3 separate regions of the Homo sapiens genome follow, and regions 1 and 3 are each linked to region 2. The links are contacts of gene promoters, found by promoter capture Hi-C in blood cells and fetal thymus (Javierre and others, 2016). All regions are on one chromosome and are shown on one strand. Each heading gives the region's core, a stretch centred on a gene start or on the middle of the fragment in contact. The rest is flanking DNA. Distances are from core to core; before and after follow the strand shown. Region 1 overlaps ZNF274 (zinc finger protein 274). Region 2 holds the start of ZIK1 (zinc finger protein interacting with K protein 1). Region 3 holds the start of ZNF324 (zinc finger protein 324).

Region 1 (3,553 bases), core at 52-2,551, 620 kb after region 2:
GAAACAATGGGATACATTGGTGGGGGACAAGCGAGGTACGGGTGGGCAGCAGTAGTTCAGAACTAAGTAGGAAGATGGTTCTGAGGAGGTGACGTTTGAGCTCAGACCTGAATGGGAAAGGCGAACCAGGTGAAGATGTTGGGGAAGGTGAACCAGGCGAAGATGTTGGGGAAGACTATACCAGGCAGGAGGGTGGTGCACATGTGGATCTCTGGATGAAAGGCCATATTCTAGGAAAACTAAGATGGTGGCTGTGGGAGACCCCTTTAGCGTCAAGGACATGAAATAACAGGGTTTGGAACCCGGCTCCTTTGTTGCCCACTATGTTAGGCCGTTCTTAAATTGCTGTAAATACCTGAGACTGGGTTATTTATGAAGATAAGAGATTTAATTGGCTCACAGTTCTGCAGGCTGTACAAGGGTGGCACTGGCATCTGGTTGGCTTCTGGGGAGGCCTCAGGGAGCTTTTTACTCATGGTGGAAGGCAGGGAGCAGGCACATCATGGGAAAAGCAGCAGCCAGAGAGAGGAAGAAGGTGCCGCATACTGTTGTTTGTTTGTTTTGTTTTTTTTTTTGGAGACACGGTCTCACTCTCACCTAGGCGGTAGTACAGTGGTGCGATCATGACCCACTGCAGCCTCGACTTCCTGAGTTCAAGCGATTCTCCCACCTCAGCTTCCTGAGTAGCCAGGACTACAGGCACATGCCGCTACGCCTGGCTAATTTTTTTTTTTTTTTTTTTTTGTGGAGATGGGGTTTTGCCATGTTGCCCAGGCCGGTCTAGAACTCCTGGGCTCAAGCGAACCACCTACCTCAGCCTCCCAAGGTGCTGGGATTACAGGCGTGAGCCATTCTGCCCGGCCACACTTTTTTAAACAACCAGATCTCGTGTGATTAACTTAACCACCAGGAGGATGGTGCTAAGCCATTCTTGAAGGTTCACCAGGCCCCACCTCCAACACAGCATCACTTTTCAACCTGAGATTTGGTAGGGACACAGAACCAAACCGGATCATCCACTCTGCAACCCTGGGCAGGGTTCCTAGCCTATCCCAGCATGAATTTCTTTTTTTTTTTTTTCTTTCTGAGATGGAGTCTTGCACTGTCGCCCAGGCTGGAGTGCAGTGGTGTGATCTTAGCTCACTGTAACCTCCACCTCCTGGGTTCAAGTGATTCTCCTGCCTCAGCCTCCCAGGTAGCTGGGACTACAGGTGCCCGCCACCTCGCCTAGCTAACTTTTGTGTTTTTAGTAGAGACGGGGTTTCACCATATTGGCCAGGCTGGTCTCAAACTCCTGACCTTGTGATCTGCCCACCTCGGCCTCCCAAAGTGCTGGGATTACAGGCATGAGTCACCGCACCAGGCATATTTCTTTTGTGTATGGTGTACATTTGCTTCCTGGGACTGTGGGCAGCCTTCGTGAAATGATGGTACTGTCATTGATTCAAAAACTGAGTAACGTAAAGATGATCAGCAGCCTTTGGCAGATCCTCTACTTAGGGGTGTGAGATCCACAAGTCCCAGTTGGCAGCCTCAGTGGTACACTGGAGGAGACAGATGCAGAAGGTAATCCAACAGGGAGCTTAGGGGCACTGAGGGAATGATGAGAGAGAACAGGAGAGCTGAGAGCTTTCCAGACAAGGAGGAAAAGTGATGGGGTACTGTGCCCAGGGATTAGGGGAGCTGAGGGTAAGTACTCTTCTGACTTTTCCCCCACAAGCTGCTAAAAAGATCATTGCTTTTCGTTATATTTTGGACTGGTATACCTGGCTAATCAGCATTCACTGGCAAACAGCACTGTGAGGAAGACAGCTGCCTAAGGCCTGTTTGTCACCCTGGAAGGGAAGCAGCAGAGAGGTAGAAGTATCCTGAGAGAAGAAAATAGTGTCAAGAGGGAGAAAGCAGCAGCTCCCATCAAGCCCTTACCACATGCTGTGCCTGGACTTTGGTATCTCATCACTTTGGGTGAAGAAACTCAGGCTCAAGAAGTTAATCTCTCTTGATTAAACCCCTTGCTTTGAGCCTCAGTGAATTTGTTTCACAACCCATTAGACAGACAGTTGTAGGTGAGGTGACTACATTGCTACGGGCTCATTCAGTTGCTGGACTGAAAGCCATTTGGAGCTCCAGCTGATAGGGATTATGCAGCTCCACATGAGTGGGTTGGGTCAGTCATGTCTGTGGAATGAGATGGGTGGAATGAGAATCCAGTTCCACCTCTGCCTGGTGGTGAACTTAAGAGCTTCCATTTTCTCCTCCATGAAGTGGAGCAGCTAATTTCCTGCAATAGACAGTGGTAAGGATTGCCCTAAAGGTCTTGGGATAGTCTATGGGTTGACATTTGGAGGACTGAGGTGCACAGAATGAGTCCATCACTTCCTCACCAGTTTCTGGGTTTGTGGTCTCTCTGTTCACTGTGGTGTCCTTGGTTCCACAGCATGCAAAAGGTGCTTTATGATAACTGTGTACAGAACAGAGTGTGGGGCCTCATGGGTTAATAATAAAGATTAAAGCAGAAGTAAGTACATTAGAAAGGGGTGGGGTGGAGTAGAAGAATCCAACAGTTGTTTTCCTAGGGGCCAAGGCATGAAAATCCCTCGATTAAGGAATACAAAAATGAAATTTTAGAAATTTATGAAGTAACGTTTAAGATGTTTAAGTGTCATGCATGGTTACCTAAAATAGTACTGGTGGCCCAGTGCTGGTCTGCCACTTAGCCCCCCCCCAGGAAGTACAGATTCAGTTGGTGCATGTCCCATGTCCTAGGCACTTAGTCCGGTGCTGCTGGGCCTCCAGTAAATCTTATCCCCAGCTGCTTCTCAGGAAAAATTCAAGCCTTAAGAGCTGTAATTGGGCTGGGCACGGTGGCTCACACCTGTAATCCCAGCACTTTGGGAGGCCGAGATGGACGGATCACCTGAGGTGAGGAGTTCGAGACCAGCCTGGCCAAGATGGCGAAACCCTGTCTCTACTAAAAATACAAAAATTAGCTGGGCCTGGCGGTGGGCGCCTGTAATCCCAGCTGCGGCTGAGGCAGGAGAATTGCTTGAACCCGGGAGGCGGAGGTTGCAGTGAGCCGAGATCCCTCCACTGCACTCTAGCGTGGGCGACTAAGAGCGAAACTCCGTCTCAAAAAAAAAAAAAAAAAGAAAAAAACGCTGTAATTGAAAGAAAATAAATGAAGTATGCTTTCAAATTAAGAAAAGTTACTTGGGGCGAAGTAAGTCCCCAGAAGTCCTAAGAAACAGAAAGGGAATTAAATACAGATCAGAGCACTTATAAATGAGTTGGAGAGGCCAAGCCCCCAAAATGAAAATACCTCAAAAGCTTATTTGGGGGAAGAGGTTGGAATTAGGTGCACAAGTGTGTCTGATTAATCTTATCAAGAAGAAAAATCACTTCAAGCGTAGACTGGTAATGGTCGAAAATTTAAAGCGTGGCTCAGGTCGTGATCTACAATTGCGCCACCTCGCTGGAAGGACGGCCTGGGCTGCGAGAAGGCAGCGCGGGCACTGGCTCTGGGCAGATCCCAGCGCGGAGCTGACTCCCTGGG
Region 2 (3,493 bases), core at 47-2,546:
TTTGTAGAGACGGGGTCTGGCTATGTTGCCCAAGTGGTCCTTCCACCTCAGCCTCCCAATGTGCTTGGATTACAGGTGTGAGCCACCGCGCTGGGCCTGACATTTTCTTTTCTGCACATTCTCTAGCTGTGTAACTTGCAACTCTTTAGCTCTGTGCCTGCAAAATAACTGGACATTATGTTACCAACAGAGGATGGCCAGATGAGACTGGTCCAGTGGTTAAACCTGCACCTTCATGGAGGCCATTATGAGTATCCCTACAGGCCGAGTCTCAGGGTGCCCCCAGAAGCCCATACCAGCCGCTGTAAGGCAGAGCATGGACTTCCCCTCGGGGACTAAATCCCATTCTTGGGCTCCAGAGGCCTTGTTCCTACCACTGTACGCCACCGCTTGGGGTGCCCTGGGAACCCGCCTACCTCCCTACTGCCCTGAGGGCGGTTGGAGATGGTCCCAGCAGGTGTGGGAGATGAGGTAGGAGACGTCTTCAACGGGGTCCAAGGCTCATCTGGACCCAGTTCTCAGCCGAGGGGCGGTGGAGAGGGCGTCAGAAAACGCAGGAACGGCTCCTAGACCCAGGAGGGGACTCAGGGAAGCAGAGGCGCTTTCCTCGGCGGCTCTGGGGCCTTCCCAGCTCGCCCGGCCCCCCTGGAGGAGACGTCCCCCGGGGTGGAGCTACGGAGAACCCCTTCCCATGGGACGTCTCGGCCCCGCCTCCCGCCTCTGGGTACAGTCAAAGGGCTCAGGTCAGAGCAGGAGCAGCCGGGGGCGCGGCCCCCACGTGGCCTCCCGGGACACGTGCCCACAGCGCGACACCTAAGTCGCTCCTTTCACAGAATAGCCTTGGCCCCGGCACGGCCTCGAACGCCTTGACCCCGCAAGGGAGGGGCACGAGGCTCCTTTGCTCCCGCAGGAGCGTCGAATACGTATGGAATACGCGTCGGTGTGGATCTGGCCTCAGCTTCCTGAGCCTGAATCAATGCTTCTAATCACGTGGGCGCTCAGCCGCGACGGGACCACAGAAATCGACCAGCGGCCTGTTTAAGGAGCGACAAGGCCCAGCCCTCTCCTGCATTGTGGCGACGCCATTTCCCTGCGCCCCCAGCGCGGCCGCTTGGCTTTTGTTTGAGGTGACGCTGGGCGGCAGCATCCTTCCCTCAGCCCTGGGGACCAGCGGGGACTACAGAACCCAGAAGGTTTTGTCTCCAGCCGCAGGGATGCTGAGCCAATCCGCGCTGAGAAAAGGGTCGTTTCCGCTTTGGGACCAATGGGTCGGGGAGGGACTTCCGGTATCACTTCAGTGGCGGTCATTTTTGCAGCGCTTGGGTGCATCCAGACCGTCAGAGCTTTGGGAGCGCTTTGTTTGGCGACAGTCGGAAGGCGCGAGGGGAGGGGTCCTCCCGCTGAACAGTGGGGGTTCTAAGGGTCGGCGGCGGCGGGGTTGACGGCTTTGCCTAGGTCCCTCCGCCCGTAGCTGTCGGGTCCCGGCCCCGCTCTGCCCACAGACTCCGATGGCTGCGGCCGCGCTGAGGGCCCCGACTCAGGTGAGCGCTGCCTCTACTGGGCCTCACCCTCCATCCCCAAATTAGTGCCTTCTTGGGTCACTACGGTCGAGATCCTCATGTCCAGTACAGTGGGGGCTCGTGGGTGGGGTCCCTATTTCCAGAACTTGGGTGATGGGGCACGGAAGAGGGTTACAGGCAAAGGGACCAGCGTTTCTAAACTCTTGGAGACACAGTGAAGAAGGTTCATACCTGGAGTGCCAAGGTGAGGAGTTTTCCCTCAATTCTTAGGATGCTAGGAGCCGTGGAGGGTTGTGTACAGAAGCGGCATATGGTCTGAGTTAGGTCTTTCGAAGTTTTCCAAAAACCTCATGGAGTTAGACTAGAATAGAATGGAATAACACAGAGGCACAGGGAGGTTGAGTTCTTGTGCAAGGTCCCACAGTTGCTAAGAGTTGGCACTGAGGACTGGAACGCTGAGGCTCAGAAATAATGCAGGCATCCTCAGTCCACCTGGCTCTGGCCTGGACAGGAATCCAGGGAAGCCTGAATCCGTAGAGCCCTGTATGGTCACCTGCCTTTCATGATCTTTGGCTTTCCACAGGTTACTGTGTCTCCAGAAACACATATGGACCTCACAAAGGTGAGTGGAGGGTGTCCCAGGCCCTCACTGGTCCTGGCCCCATCCTGGGGTTTTTTCATGGATCTTTTTGCCACCATCCAGTTCTTTGACCTAAGGACTCTTCACAAACTGGAAGCTTGACATCCTGATTCTAGACTGGTGGTTATTTGTAGACGTTCTTATTGCTGGCAGACAATGGAATGAGGTGTGAAAGGTTGCCCCGCCTACGTACAATAATGTGTAAGGTTGGCAGTGAAGCTGAGCTGATTCAGGGAAACACAACTCTCCTTTCTTTCTCATGGGAACTCAGAGCAGCAGGGCAGGACTCAGGCCTGGAATGGCTCTGAGAAATTGGGTGTTTTTTCTGGAGGTGATGAGAACAATGGGAGGTTTAGAGAAGAGAACGGAGGTTATCTGACACTGGTCTCATCAGGTTCACTGTTAATGCAGCATAGAGAATACTCTGTGGGTGTGATGGAGGCGATAGAAAGACCAGGGAGGAGGCTACTGCAGTGGCCAAGGTGAGTTTTGATAGTGGCTTCACCAGTGTGGTGGCTGTGAAGGTAGAAGAAGTGGCTGGATTCTGGGTCAGAATTTTAATTAGGCCTGCTTGCATTTTCAGATTTTGAGGGTAAGAGATACTGGTCAAGCATTACTCCAGGCATTTTGAATTTAGCATCTGGAAGGATGGAATCTCCATCAAATAGCATGTTATAGGATTGATTTTATTTTTATTTTATTTATTTATTTGTCTATTTTTAGACAGTCTCACTCTGTCACTCAGGCTGGAGTGCAGTGGCTCGATCTTGGCTCTTTGCAACCTCCACCTCCCGGGTTCAAGCAATCCTCCTGCCTCAGCCTCCTGAGTAGTTGGGACTACAGGCACATGCTACCGTGCTACCATGCCCAGCGAATTTTTTTTTTTTTTTTTTTTTGTATCTTTAGTAGAGACAGGGTTTCACCATGTTGGCCAGGCTGGTCTCAAACTCCTGACCTCAGGTGATCCACCTGTCTTGGCCTCCCAAAGTGCTGGGATTACAGGCGTGAGCCACCATGCCCAGCCAATTAATTTTCATTAAGGATAACAGGAGTTTTGTCTTTAGCTATTATCATAGTCTGAGATATTCCAAAGAATGATATATGGAGACATCAGGTGAGTAGCTGTCCATGTACATCTAGAATTCTGGAAGTGGTTTAAGATGGAGAAATCCAAAAGGTGGTGGCCAGTGTTTGGCCCAGAGTAGCTATGGGTCACAATTAGGAGTGGGTAATCCTGGTCTTGAAGATAATGCTATTTATAATGCAGGAAAGGGCTGGGTGTGGTGGCTCACACCTGTAATCCCAGCACTTTGGGCGGCCGAGGCAGGCGGAT
Region 3 (3,304 bases), core at 348-2,847, 880 kb after region 2:
CTCTCTCTTACCCAGGCTGGAGTGCAGGGGCTCCATCATAGCTCACTGCACACTCCAACTCCTGAACTCAATCCTCCCACCTCAGCCTCCCATGTAGCTGGTATTACAGGCATGCAAGACCATGCTCAGCTAATTTTTATATTTTTTTATAAAGATGGGGTCACATTTTGTTGCTCAGGCTGGTCTCAAACTCCTAGGCTCCAGTGATCGCTCACCTTGGCCACCCAAAGTGCTCAGATTCCAGGTGTGAGCCACTGCGCCCAGTCCTGAAATGTTCTTAAATTCTTTCAAAGTAGCAAAATTTATATTAAAACATTCCAAACATGATGAGCTCCCTTGCTCTACAAGGATTTACAAGTAGAATCAATTAGGTGGACAGTTATAGCTGACAGTTGACAGAGAGATAGTTATAGATGGAGGTAGGTATAGAGGGAGGGAGGCAAAAAGAGTTAAGGAACTGGACAGCTGAGAACTGTCTACAGGTTCCAAAAACAAGACAAAGAACCTTTTATTATCTGCCAAACAAGACAGTCTACATTGAGACTGCTCTGCCTTTCGTTTTTATGTGTCAAAGACACTTAAATTGGCCTGTAATCCCAGCACTTTGGGAGAACGAGGTGGGCGGATCACCTGAGGTCAGGAGTTCAAGACCAGCCTGGCCAACATGGTGAAACTCCATCTCTACTAAAAAATACAAAAATTAGCCAGGCATGGTGGCGCACACCTGTGGTCCCAGCTACTACGGAGGCTGAGGCGGGGGGATCACTTGAACCTGAAGGCAGAGGTTGCAGTGAGCCGAGATTGTGCCACTGCACTCCAGCACGGGCAACAGAACAAAGACCCTGTTAAAAAAAAAAAAAAAAAACTTAAATGAGTCCCAAGAAAAAAGGAAAAAAGAATGAATATTGTGATGTGTGGGGCAAGACAAGATCTAGATGGTCTAAGGACAAGCAAATCTGGGGAATTAACTTCTGCCCATCCAAATTACAAGGAAAACAGATGCTTTGGGCAAGTGTCGAGGAACAGTCTCATACTTAAGACAAATGTAGGCTTACGGGCTGAGAATTCTTGGTGTAAAGGTTGAAAACGGACCTTAAACCTTTACGGGACATTGACACAGAGAGGTCAAACCCGCGCCCAGGACGCACAGTCAGTGAGAGGCAGAGCTGGGAAGGGAACCCGGAGCTCCAGGCATCGGCTCCTCCACCTCCACCTGCGCTACCCGGTGCATTTTCTCCTCCGTGCTCACTGCTGGTGTTGCCTCTTGGAACCTCGGCAGTTTCTGCTTTCGCACCTGCAGGGTTTAGTCTCCGGGACTGCTTGGGAGGACACCTGGAATGCCGAAGGCAGGACTACACACCGGGCGAATCCACCAGCGCCACCAAGCCCTTGAAAACCCGAGGCCGCCGCGCGACTCCATTTCCCAGCGCCCCGCGCGGCAGGGGCTTGGACGTTGCCAAGGAGACCGGTAGTGGCCCCGCCTCCACGCAGGGAAACAGGCGGGAACCACGTGACCCGGAAGGCTGTACGCAAGCGTCCGCGGCGCGCACTGGGCCAATGAGAACCGAAGGGCTGGACTTCCGGCGGTGGGACTGTCACTTCGCCGCCCGCGTCAGGCCACACCGGTGGTCTGGGCTGGGGACCGCGGGTCGGGTCCGGTTTCCAGGGGGTTCCTGGTGCTCGAGGCTGGCGGCGAGGAAGGTACTGGCTGAGGGCCCGCGTCGGGCCCGCCCTGCGCACGCGTCGTGATCAAGGGCGCCGGCCGCCGGCCGCGCCCCCAAGCCTCTGTTTCTCAGAGTGCGTCGTGGGCGTCCAGGGGACTGTCGGGCCGCGGCGGGAGCCATGCGCTCTCCCACCGTGCGGCAGCCCAGGAGGCTGCGCGCTGGGCGTTCCACGTCCATGATGGCCGGGGAGACTGAGGCGCGGGGCGGCCCCGGGACGCTGCTGGCGGGGAAAGGCTGGGTGGTCCACGCCTTTCTTCCCTCCCAGCTGCGGGTTCCGCTGGCGGCGGTGGCGCTGACAAGCCCGCGTCGGGGAAGCAGGGGAGTCCCTGCTCACACAGACCGCGCCCTCACGGAGGGAGGCCGCTTCCTAGACCTCGCCTAGTCGTCTTTCCTCTCCCTGCCCTGGGGGGGTTGCGGGGGTCAGTGCAAACTCCTGCGTCCAGGGCACTGGTGAGCTCCCGAGTTCGGGCAGCCAGGGGGCTGAGGTCCCGAAGGAGGCTCCGAGGGGAGAGTCCTGCGTGTGCAAAACCTGGGAGGGGAGCCGAAGCCCAGGTGCTTCTGGGACTGAGCTCTCTCGATGTGGAGCTGGAGTAGAGGGGATGTGTGCGGCTGCAGTATCAGGCGAGGGAGTGGGCTTTATCTCGAGGGCGTCGGGAGACATAGAAGTTTTGAACAGAATCAGGACATCCTCTGAGGACTTTAAAACGGTTCCACCGTTTGTTGCGTGGAGAACAGACATGCAGGGGTGTCGGCATGAAGGGAAGAACCGACTGCCACAGTCTGGGCAGCAGTGGAGGTGGGCGACCAGGTGAATTCTGGTGGATCTGCGGATGCATCAGGTGTGGGCTGTTTGAAGAACTAAGTACCCCATGTTGTTCAGCCTGAGCGCCTGGAAGAAGAGAGCTGCTGTAGATAGAAAGGAGAATTGAAAGGAAAGCAGGTTTCCTTCAGGGGAAAGATCAAGAGTCTGGGATGTCCCAGGTTGGTCATGTCACTGGACCTGACGTTGTTGGCGTCCTGGGCTGTGGACAGGGCCTATGAATTGGACTGAGGAATGGGCAGGGACTCAGCCAGGTGTGGGCAGTTATGGCTTGAGGGTAAAGAAGACCAGCTGGGATGCCTGGGGCTATTGGGAAGAGCCTAGCACCTAACTGAGGAGGGGAGGGTGGCAACAGAGAGGGGAAGAAAGGGGACACCGGGTGAAAGGAGGAAGGGATTGAGTTCCTCTGTGTTCACAGGTTGTTGAGGCTGCTCCCCTGTGGCGACTGGTGAGAATCATCCAGTCCCTCAGGCTGGATGAGCAGCCTGGAAATGTCAGGCAAGCAGGCTCAGCAGGGGAGGGTCCCAGTGATGGGTATGCCTGGGAAGCCCCTGCTGGGACTCACAGTTTCTTGCTACAAGAGCAGGAAGGGTGCATCTGGGGAGGGTCATGAGTGGTCATGCTGAGTCACGAGTGGACACCTGGGGCTGCTCTTGGTGTGGCAGCTGAGGGCCCAGCCAGGACTTGTTCTAGCTTGCTTGTGTATGGCGTTGCCAGTGGGGAGGCCAAGAAGGCATCTGGGGTCTGGTCAGGGAGGGCA

Evidence for each region. The method cuts DNA at HindIII sites, captures the fragments that hold promoters and counts their contacts. A CHiCAGO score of 5 or more calls a contact.
Region 1: a contact is called between a fragment that was not itself captured here and the fragment with the promoter of ZIK1 in region 2, in 1 of 17 cell types (non-activated CD4 T cells). The highest score is 5.3, in non-activated CD4 T cells.
Region 3: a contact is called between the fragment with the promoter of ZNF324 here and the fragment with the promoter of ZIK1 in region 2, in 4 of 17 cell types (total CD4 T cells, total CD8 T cells, total B cells and 1 more). The highest score is 8.0, in total CD4 T cells.

Annotation. Positions count from the first base shown.
Region 1 is chr19:58,200,449-58,204,001 of GRCh38, forward strand. All of the region lies in intron 4 of ZNF274 (zinc finger protein 274), which reads left to right. Among named protein-coding and RNA genes, the nearest start is that of ZNF274, 19 kb to the left of the region's middle. The HindIII fragment of the contact is 4,047 bases long and covers 1-3,325 here.
Region 2 is chr19:57,582,849-57,586,341 of GRCh38, forward strand. It overlaps ZIK1 (zinc finger protein interacting with K protein 1), which reads left to right and starts at 1,297. Exons shown (of 4, transcript NM_001010879.4): 1 at 1,297-1,541; 2 at 2,104-2,142. The coding sequence starts at 1,509. RefSeq lists enhancers at 806-1,337, 1,034-1,133. The HindIII fragment of the contact is 4,281 bases long and covers 1-2,255 here.
Region 3 is chr19:58,465,483-58,468,786 of GRCh38, forward strand. It overlaps ZNF324 (zinc finger protein 324), which reads left to right and starts at 1,598. Exons shown (of 4, transcript NM_014347.3): 1 at 1,598-1,701. RefSeq lists enhancers at 1,329-1,945, 1,946-2,560, 2,979-3,098 and silencers at 1,588-1,637, 1,718-1,847. The HindIII fragment of the contact is 6,014 bases long and covers 1-3,304 here.